Regions from separate parts of the Homo sapiens genome. Here region 2 is linked to region 1. The links are contacts of gene promoters, found by promoter capture Hi-C in blood cells and fetal thymus (Javierre and others, 2016). All regions are on one chromosome and are shown on one strand. Each heading gives the region's core, a stretch centred on a gene start or on the middle of the fragment in contact. The rest is flanking DNA. Distances are from core to core; before and after follow the strand shown.

The links. Contacts are between HindIII fragments. The CHiCAGO score rates a contact against its expected background, and 5 or more counts as called.
Region 2: a fragment that was not itself captured here is called in contact with the fragment with the promoter of PTGDS in region 1 in 3 of 17 cell types (M1 macrophages, activated CD4 T cells and endothelial precursors); the score reaches 6.4 in M1 macrophages.

What each region holds. Positions count from the first base shown.
Region 1 is chr9:136,974,914-136,979,575 of GRCh38, forward strand. PTGDS (prostaglandin D2 synthase) reads left to right here and starts at 2,591. Exons shown (of 7, transcript NM_000954.6): 1 at 2,591-2,779; 2 at 4,080-4,219; 3 at 4,310-4,386. The coding sequence starts at 2,666. It also overlaps LOC124902312. RefSeq lists an enhancer at 3,651-4,630. The HindIII fragment of the contact is 17,671 bases long and covers 1-4,662 here.
Region 2 is chr9:136,754,265-136,758,545 of GRCh38, forward strand. It overlaps LCN8 (lipocalin 8), which reads right to left and starts at 3,979. Exons shown (of 7, transcript NM_178469.4): 1 at 3,643-3,979; 2 at 2,774-2,904; 3 at 2,258-2,328; 4 at 1,148-1,252; 5 at 980-1,069; 6 at 871-896; 7 at 122-245. The coding sequence starts at 3,666. The coding sequence ends at 234. RefSeq lists an enhancer at 3,994-4,183. The HindIII fragment of the contact is 243 bases long and covers 1,141-1,383 here.

The DNA.
Region 1 (4,662 bases), core at 1,341-3,840:
GCAGGCAGGGGGATGGCCTTGGTGACCTCTTAGGGTGGAGGCCAAGTCTTTGCATTTTGTGACTCAAAGAGACTGGTTCCCAGAGAGCAGGGTGGGGCGGCCAGCCTTCTTCCTGCCCAGCCCTCCGCCAGGCTCCACTAAGGTCCTGCCTGGCAGCCAAGCTCAGAGCAAAGGGAAGGGCACAGAGAGTGTGCAGGGTGGTCCTTGTCCCTGCCCAAGCTGCAAGAGGCTCTGCGAAGGTCCCTCCTGCCCCTGTCCACCTTGCACAGTCCTAGCCGGGGGAGGAGGGGAGAAATCTGGCGTGCCAGGAGCTGGCAACTGCCCAGCCCTTCCTGGATGTGGTGAGAGATGAATCTCCAGCCCTCGGGTGGGCCCAGGTGCACCCATGAATCAGGGCTCGTGGGCAGCTCCCACTCACTGGTCCTCACTCAGCCGTGTCTGGGGAGTGTCTCTGACCACCTGCTGGCCATCTTGACCACAGGGACTGAGGAGTCCGTCCTGAACCGAAGCATGATCCTGTTAGCTCTTCCAGCTCTCCAGGCGCCAACGACCATATGGTCTCGGTAACGACTGGTCAGGGAGGAGAAGGGACATGGGACCTGCTGGGCTTTCTGCAGCCCACTAGAAAATGGGGAAGAGGAGGGGCTTGGTCCCTGTTCCAGGCACTGGGTTTGAGGGCTGGACACCCGAGATCCCTGGGAACCCCTCTGGCTATGGGAGGACCCGGCCCCATCAGACTTCAGAGTCCCTCCCTGGCAGGTGACCCAGGCCTGCCCAGACGGAAGCCATTCAGACCCAGAGCCACGTGTCCTGGGTCTCCCTGCCCCGGGCCACCCGCCACCACACCCCAGAGCTTGCTCACCACCGGGAGGCGCTCTTGTCCTGGACCAGCCTAGCCTGGGTTGGGACCTCCAGCCAGGCCAGTCAGCGAGCCACCAGCCCCACCAGAGTGGAATGACAGCCAGGACTCAGCTGGCAGCGGGCAGGAGGCCAGTCTTGTGGTGATATCCCAGCCGCAACTCTCTTCCTGCCCCTCCCCTGTCCTGACGGCAGCCCCCAGCTCTGTAGCTGAGCCAGGCTTGCGGGCCACGCGGGGTCCCGGGTTTAGGCACCCCACCCCTATCTGTTCCAACAGACTCTCCCTCTCAGCCCATGGCACAGATGGCATCTGAGCTAGCAGCACGCTGCTGCTTCAGGCAGGGGTTGATAGGAGGTCCAGGTGGAGGAGTGGGTTCTCAGGACTGCCTTGGCCCCCCTGCACCGCTGCCCTCCTTCTCCCTGCCTCTCAGGTGCCTCCCGGCTCCCTGGGACTCACTCCCTCACCTTGGCCTCTGCCTGGGATGCTACCCGGCCACCCCCACCAGCCCTGACACCAGTGCTGCCCACTAGCCCCTGCTGCTACATAGGCATGCGCCTCCCCCAGTCTGGGCTCCTTGACCCCCGGGCACTGGGGAAGGGGAACAAGGAAGCAGTCCACACCAGCCCACTCCCAGGGCTCGTGCGCCCCCAGCAAGGGATGGGCCACAGAATCCAGGAAGAAGACGGGCTCCGGCCCCCAGTGGTCGCCAGCAGCCCCGTAGAAGCTCACCACCCCACCCCATCCGACTCACTCCTGCTCTCATGTACATTTCCCAGCTCCCCACCCGGGCTCACCTTCAGACCAGCGGCAGCGCTCACCCACCACGCCTGCCAGGGAAGCTCAGTCCCAACAGAATCCAGAGAGGGCCCACCACATGTGCCTGCCTGTGACGGCCTGTGACAGGGCCCCAGCCAGGGCCAACGAGCTGGAGGGGCCCAAGGAGCTGGGTGCAGCGCTGGGGTAACAGGACAGCCCCACGGGGTGCTCCCGAGTCTGGACCAGACTCGGGGTGGGGAGGCCCAGACTCGGCGGGGGGCAGACTTGGGGTGGGGGGATTGCTGGGGGAAGTTGGGGCCTCTGGCAAGGGATAGGGCCTGTGCTCAAGCCCAAAGGTGCCCCAGGCTGAAATGGGCACCCAGGGGTCACTATCAGAGCCCCAACAGCTGGCCATGGGGGAAGCCATGCCCAGCAAACCTGGCCCTCGGGACCCTGCGGGCCAGATCAAGTTTCTCTACCTTGGCCTGAGCTTCTCATCAACACTTCACTTGCTGGGCGTTTCAGGACCAAACTCTCAGGGTGGAAGTGGGGCTTGTGTCCCCTTCTGGGGTGGCAGGGCTCGGAAAGGGAATGATGGTAGGGGCTGTGAGATGTGGGTCCTGGCCCCCAGTGGGAAGTCACCAGAGGCCTCGGAGGCGGGCATGGCTGAGGAACACAGCCCCTGCCCTATCAGGGCCGCTGGGTTGGTGGGCCCTGCCAGCAGGAGGAGGGTGGGCAAGGTCCCTGCCAGCTCTGTCTCTGGGACCAGTGGGCAGGGGCCTCTGCCTCACCCCCACGCTGCCTCAGCTGGGGCAGCAGGCCCAGGCCTCTTGCATAAGCGCCCTGTGGGGGACGAGGCTGCAGCTGTGCCTGGCCACCCCATCCCCCAGCATCACGAGTGTTCAGTGGGCTGTCCCCGGGCCCTGGGTGGAGGCCAAGCCTGGCCCATAAATAGGGGTCTCCTCAGTGCCCTCCGCTCCTCCTGCACACCTCCCTCGCTCTCCCACACCACTGGCACCAGGCCCCGGACACCCGCTCTGCTGCAGGAGAATGGCTACTCATCACACACTGTGGATGGGACTGGCCCTGCTGGGGGTGCTGGGCGACCTGCAGGCAGCACCGGAGGCCCAGGTCTCCGTGCAGCCCAACTTCCAGCAGGACAAGGTGAGGGGCTTTCCTGCGTCATCCCCAAGGGCTACAGGACCCTGTCAGGGGAAGGGCACTTTCCGGCTGGGTCTTCCCCCTGGGAGGAGTGAGCGAAGTCCCGCAGTGCCGGGCAGTGCCGGCCAGGGACTGAGCGGGCGCGCAGGAAGGAGGCTGGGTAGCCGCCCGAGGAGGCTGCCCGCGAGAAGCCCTCCCTGGGCACCGCGTCCCGTCTCCCCTGATGGGCCACGCAGACACCGGGCCACACACGCGCCCACGCCAGCCAGACACGTCCACCCCTGTGGGCACGCGACCCCCAGAGGACACACGAGCGCACGTTCCACACCTGGGTGCCAGGACACGGGCGGGTGGGGCACAGGGATGGCGACAAACACTCCGTGCGCGGTGGGGGTTGGGAGGGACGCGCACCGCACAGACAGCCGGCGACGCGCGCTCTCGCCCGGGAGCTGCTCGGGGAAGCGCCGGAGCGCGGGTCCCCGCGCCGCGCGCCCCTCCCTGGCGTCGAGGAGAACCCCAGCGGTCCGCAGAGCTGAGCCGAAGACCCGCCCCGATCCCCGCCAGGAATGCGACGTCCTCTGCCGCCCGCTGTATGGGCCAGGCGCTCAGCCAGGGCACAGAATCGGGACCGGGGGCGGAGGGGCCGAAGCTGGCTGGTGGGCGGCGTGCGAGGGTGAGGGACTGTCCTCGGGAGGGGCGTGGCCAGACGGGGGTGCTGGGTGTCAGGGGCGTGGCCAGCTTCTGGGGCTGAGGCGTGAGGGGCGGGGCCATCTCCGGGGGAGGGGGAAGTGGGGCGTGGTCATCTCCTGGGGCGGGGCGTGAGGGGCGGGGCCACCTCCCGGGGCGGGGCGGGGGCCTGATGGGCGTGGTCAGCTCCTGGGGCGGGGACGTGAGGGGCGGGGTCAGCTCCTAGGGGGGCATGGGGCGTGAGGGGCGCGGTCAGTTCCCTGGTTGTGGACATGAAGGGCGGGGCCAGCTCTTGGGGCGGGGTCGTGAGGGGCGTGGTCAGCTCCTGGGGCGGGGATGTGAGGGGCGGGGTCATCTCCTGGGGCGGGGATGTGAGGGGCGTGGTCAGCTCCTGGGGCGGAGATGTGAGGGGCGGGGTCATCTCCTGGGGCGGGGATTGAGGGGCGGGGGTCAGTTCCTGGGGCGGGGCGTGAGGGGCGTGGCTGCTCGGGGGATTGGGCGTGGGGGCGGGGCCGGGTTGGAGACCGGAGGAGTAGACGGCAGAGGCGCCCCCGCAGGTAGGCGCAGGTGGGTCCGGAGGGTCCTGGCCGACGCGGGTGGGGGTCGCTCGCCGCAGTTCCTGGGGCGCTGGTTCAGCGCGGGCCTCGCCTCCAACTCGAGCTGGCTCCGGGAGAAGAAGGCGGCGTTGTCCATGTGCAAGTCTGTGGTGGCCCCTGCCACGGATGGTGGCCTCAACCTGACCTCCACCTTCCTCAGGTGGGACAGCGGGCAGGTGGGTTTCTGGGACGGAGAGGTCCAGGGACACCCTCGGGCCTAACCCCTGACCCTGAGGTCACCCACCTACAGGAAAAACCAGTGTGAGACCCGAACCATGCTGCTGCAGCCCGCGGGGTCCCTCGGCTCCTACAGCTACCGGAGTCCCCGTGAGTGGGGCCTCCACCGGCCCCCTGGGCCCAGCCTGGGGGCGACACTTGCCGGGACGACTCTGGGCCAGCCCCCTGCCGCGGAGATCCATGGGGTGGGAGGTGATGGCTGCCCCACCAGCGTCAGAGGCAAAGGCCAGGCCTGGGCGTGACTACCCATGCACAAGTGTTAGGGACAGAGAGACCCTTCCTCCAGGGGGTTGGATCCTCTCTGGAGCCCACCATTGTCTTGTCAGGCCCCTTCCCTGCCCTCTGGAGTTTTCCCCACATAAGCAG
Region 2 (4,281 bases), core at 12-2,511, 220 kb before region 1:
GAGCTGCACTGTTTGTCCAGTAACCACGGAAAACACACCTCCTGTTGCCAGACCTGGGGCGGGTGAGTCCCCCCACACCTGTCACCCATCGGCCCTCCGGAAGGACACACCAGGCAGTGGCTTGACTTCACAGTTTATTCAGAGCAGGTGCAGGTGACCTGGTGGGCAGGGTGCCCAGGAGGGGCAGGGGTGGGCGGGCGCTCCGAACCTTGTGGTCTGAGGCAGGAACTCCATTAAATCAGCTCCTGCGACACAGAAGTGCAGGGGCTCAGGCCCGTGTGGTCTCTGGAGGCCCCACGGGGCTTCGATGAGGGCCACACGGCGGGACTTCTGTCCTCGCTGCCTGGTTTTGCGCAAAGCACCCAGCTCCCTGAGCGCCTTCTCAATCTGCAAAATGGGGTAACAGGCCCAGCCTCTAGGGCCAAGACAAAGCGAGGTGAGGGAGACACTGGGTTCTCGCAGTGCCCAACATGGGAGCCCTGAGGCAGCGCCCGCAGGATCTGTGCCCCGCCGCCGACGGGACCTTCGGGGGCAGAAGCAGCCGGCAGTCCTGCACAGAACACCGAAGAAAAGGCGCCATTTCTGCTCCCCTGCCCCACCCAGCTCTGCACCCCGTGACCCCAGCCTCCCAGGGTCCCTGCCTGGCAGCCTAGGGTCACCACCCTGGAGGTTCCAGCTCTTTCCAAACCAGGAGACAGACTCATCTCTGGAGCTGCCCACCAGTGGTGTTTGGTGTCCTGTTCACAGGAAGGGGTGAGAAGGCCCAGCCCAGGGCCGGGAGGCGGAGCCACGGGGGCTCCTGACAGGGCCAGGGACTGGGCCAGGGGCCCGGGAACTTCAGCACAGGCCAGGGTCGGGGGTCAGGCTCACCTCCTTCAGGAGCTCGGCACACCGCCCTGCAGGATAGGCCAGCATGAGGAGCTGCAGAGTCAGCCCACAGGGCCCAGCCCAGCCTCCACCCCAAGGCCCCTGGGCTCACCAGGCCGGGCCGCCAGGTAGAGACCAGTGTCTGCTGTCAGCTCCCGAAACTTCCAGAACCCCAGCCGGTCCTTGTCCTCAAGGCTCCGAGCTGTGGGGCACAGGGGGGCTGGGCGGGCAGTCCCTGGGAGAGCAGCAGCTGGGCAGAGCCCCCCAGGGCCAAGCTTACTAAAGTACTTGAGGACGCGAAAGTTCCTGCCCCGCCACATCAGGGACACCCGCAGGATGGCGTAGCCCTCGTAGTCGGTGTCCAGCACGTGGATCTCTCTGTGGCCTTCAAGAGCCGGCCATGGCGTTGGGGGAGACGTCTGAGGGGGACGGACCTCGAAGGCCAGGGTCTGCAGGGTCTAACTCCATCCTGCCCCCACCCAGTCCCAGCACTTGAGTGGTTGGAGACACTACAGAAGCTTTTGAAGGATGATCCAGTGTGTTGGTGGGAGAATGGGAAGGTCTGGGGCATGAAATGTGCAGGGAACAGCATGGGGAACAGTGCAGGGAACCCTGCAGGGAACAGCATGGGGAACGGTGCAGGAAACAGCATGGGGAACAGTGCAGGGAACAGCATGGGGAACAGTGCAGGGAACAGTGCAGGGAATGCATGGGGAACGGCACAGAGAAAAGTGCAGGGAACAGCATGGGGAATAGTGCAGGGAGCAGTGCGGGGAACAGTGCAGGGAGCATTGCAGGGAACAGCATGGGGAACAGTGCAGGGAACAGTGCAGGGAATGCATGGGGAACGGCACAGAGAAAAGTGCAGGGAACAGCATGGGGAATAGTGCAGGAAACAGCATGGGGAACAGTGCAGGGAGCAGTGCGGGGAACAGTGCAGGGAGCATTGCAGGGAACAGCATGGGGAACAGTGCAGGGAACAGCATGGGGAACAGCGCAGGGAACAGCATGTGGAACAGCGCAGGGAACAGCATGAGGAACAGTGCAGGGAACAGCATGGGGAACAGCGCAGGGAACAGCATGGGGAACAGTGCAGGGAACAGTGCAGGGAACGCATGGGGAATGGCGCAGAGAAAAGTGCAGGGAACAGCATGGGGAATAGTGCAGGAAACAGCATGTGGAACAGTGCAGGGAGCAGTGCAGGGAACAACATGGGGAACAGCACAGGGAATAGTTCAGGGAACAGCATGGGGAACAGTGCAGGGAACAGCACAGAGAACAGTGCAGGGAACAGCATGGGGAACAGTGCAGGGAACAGCATGGGGAACAATAAGGCCTAGCTGTGTGCACAGCCGGGTTCCACCTGCCATCACAGGGCAACTGCACTTACCAGGAAAAGCGAATTTTCCCGTACTGTCTATTTCTGAGCCCACGATCTTCTCTATCTCACAGCTTCCTGAGCTGAAAGGCAGCAAAGTGCCCATCGGTAAAATGCTAGCCTGTGTCCCGCCTGCTGGGCTCCTTCCCGGAGTGGGGCTGTGTCTTTAGGAAGGGCACAGGCAGCACTGTGGAGTATCCCAGGCCTGGAGCAGGATGAGGCGGGGAATGTGCCAGGTGGGGCCTTCCCCTGGGGATTCTGTTCCCTCCAGCCAGTCACCTGTCCCACACCCCTTTTCCTTCCTTCTAAGTTCACGGGGCTTCATTAAAACACTATGCTTATATTTGGGATAAAATGCAGATCCAGGAGCCTGGGGGTCGAGGGCTCAGGCAGACGGGCACCGGGAGTGCTGGCCCACCAGCGGGACGGCACTCAGCCCAGACCCCACGCTGCAGCGGGTGCAGCAACCCACGCCCAGTCCCCGGCCATGCATGCCTCTTCCTCTCCAGCAGCCCCCAGGCCTCTTACCTGTTATATGCAACCTTCACGGTCAGGTTACTCCCGCTCAAGGTGAGGAACAAGCCCTCCACCCGCTTCGGGGCCGTCAGCACCAGGCTTTGATCGGAGGCCACACCGACTTCCCTCCAGAATCCTCCAATCTAGAGAGATACGGAGCCTGGCCAAGAGCTGAGCAGTGGGTCTGAGACCCCCAGGGGCATTCCACGAACCCCCGGGCAGGGGCCTGCTGGGCTCTGAGAGGTCAGCAGATGGCTGTGAGGCTCGGTGGCAAAGCAGCAAGACATCTGTGAGCCCACTGTCCCCAGGCATGTGTCCCTCCAAGCGGTGCCTTCAGGCCATCAGACAGCAATGCCCACAGGGCAGCCCCTCCCCACTGGGCCATCTAGAGCTGCGGAACAGTCCCTAGGGCTTCTGCGACATGTCGGGAGGAACCACAGGCCCTGCCTGACCTCGGAGGCAGGACCCAGGAGCAGAGGCCTGGAAAAGAAAGCCCGCAGGGCGCGGCGGAGTGAGAAACGCCAGAGAACAGGTGGCTCGGGTAGCGCAGCTCGCCAGCCTGCCAACCACGCCAGAGGATGGGCCTCCTGCCCTCAGCAACCCGCCCAGAGCCGGGACTTCCGCTGAGACTTTTAAAAACCCTACCATTTTCGGGAGGAAAGAATCTTCGTCTCCGGCATCTACCTTCTCTGGGCCTGCTAATGTGCCTCTGGCCCAGCAGCCGGCACAGACTCAGCGGAGAAGAAAATGCCGCTAACAGGAAGTGTCTAGCCGGGCACCAGCGTCCCCACGAGCTCCCCACACCGGGAGAGGCCTCCTTCCCTGAGCCTGAGGGGTTGGGGGTGTAGGAGGAGCCCCACCAACTAAGAAGGAGAAGCCACCTTCTGCCGGTCCAGCTCCTCCATGGCTGCTGCCACCTGCGCCCGGAGCACCACGAGGACACCCAGGATGGTGCACGGCAGCCTGGCCTCCGTGGCGGGGTCCGGGCTCCGGGTTCCCCTGCTGCACAGCCTGGGCCGATTCTATACGGACAGTGCAGGCTTGTGCGCCCACCCGGGAATGTCATCAGGACAGCTTGGCTGCTGGCAGCTCAGAGACGTGGGTTTCTGCACAAGCGCCATCGGCCCTGGTGACACCCACGCCCACCGCAGGGGTTAGCCTGGCCTAGACAGCAGCCTGCCCAGCCACCCTCCTGGCATATGGACAGCGGTGGACGCTGCTGGGGCCGTCTCGGAGCCTGAGAGGAAGAGGAGCTCCACCCACACCACCTGGGGCTCGGTGACCCCCACCCCACATGACACTTGTTTTTTTGGGCTCGTTCTGGCCTGCGCTGCGAGGGCTGTGGGCACTGATGGGCAACGGACCAGAGCCTCCAGCACTTTCCTGTGCCACCCCACGCCTGGCCCTTTGAAATGTGTGCCAGACGCAGTGGGCAGTCAGAGCTCCGGAGGCCGGAGGCACAGCGCCAGCGACCAGAGTGACAGTGACAGTGGGGAGGGCCTCTGCTGCACCAGGCATCA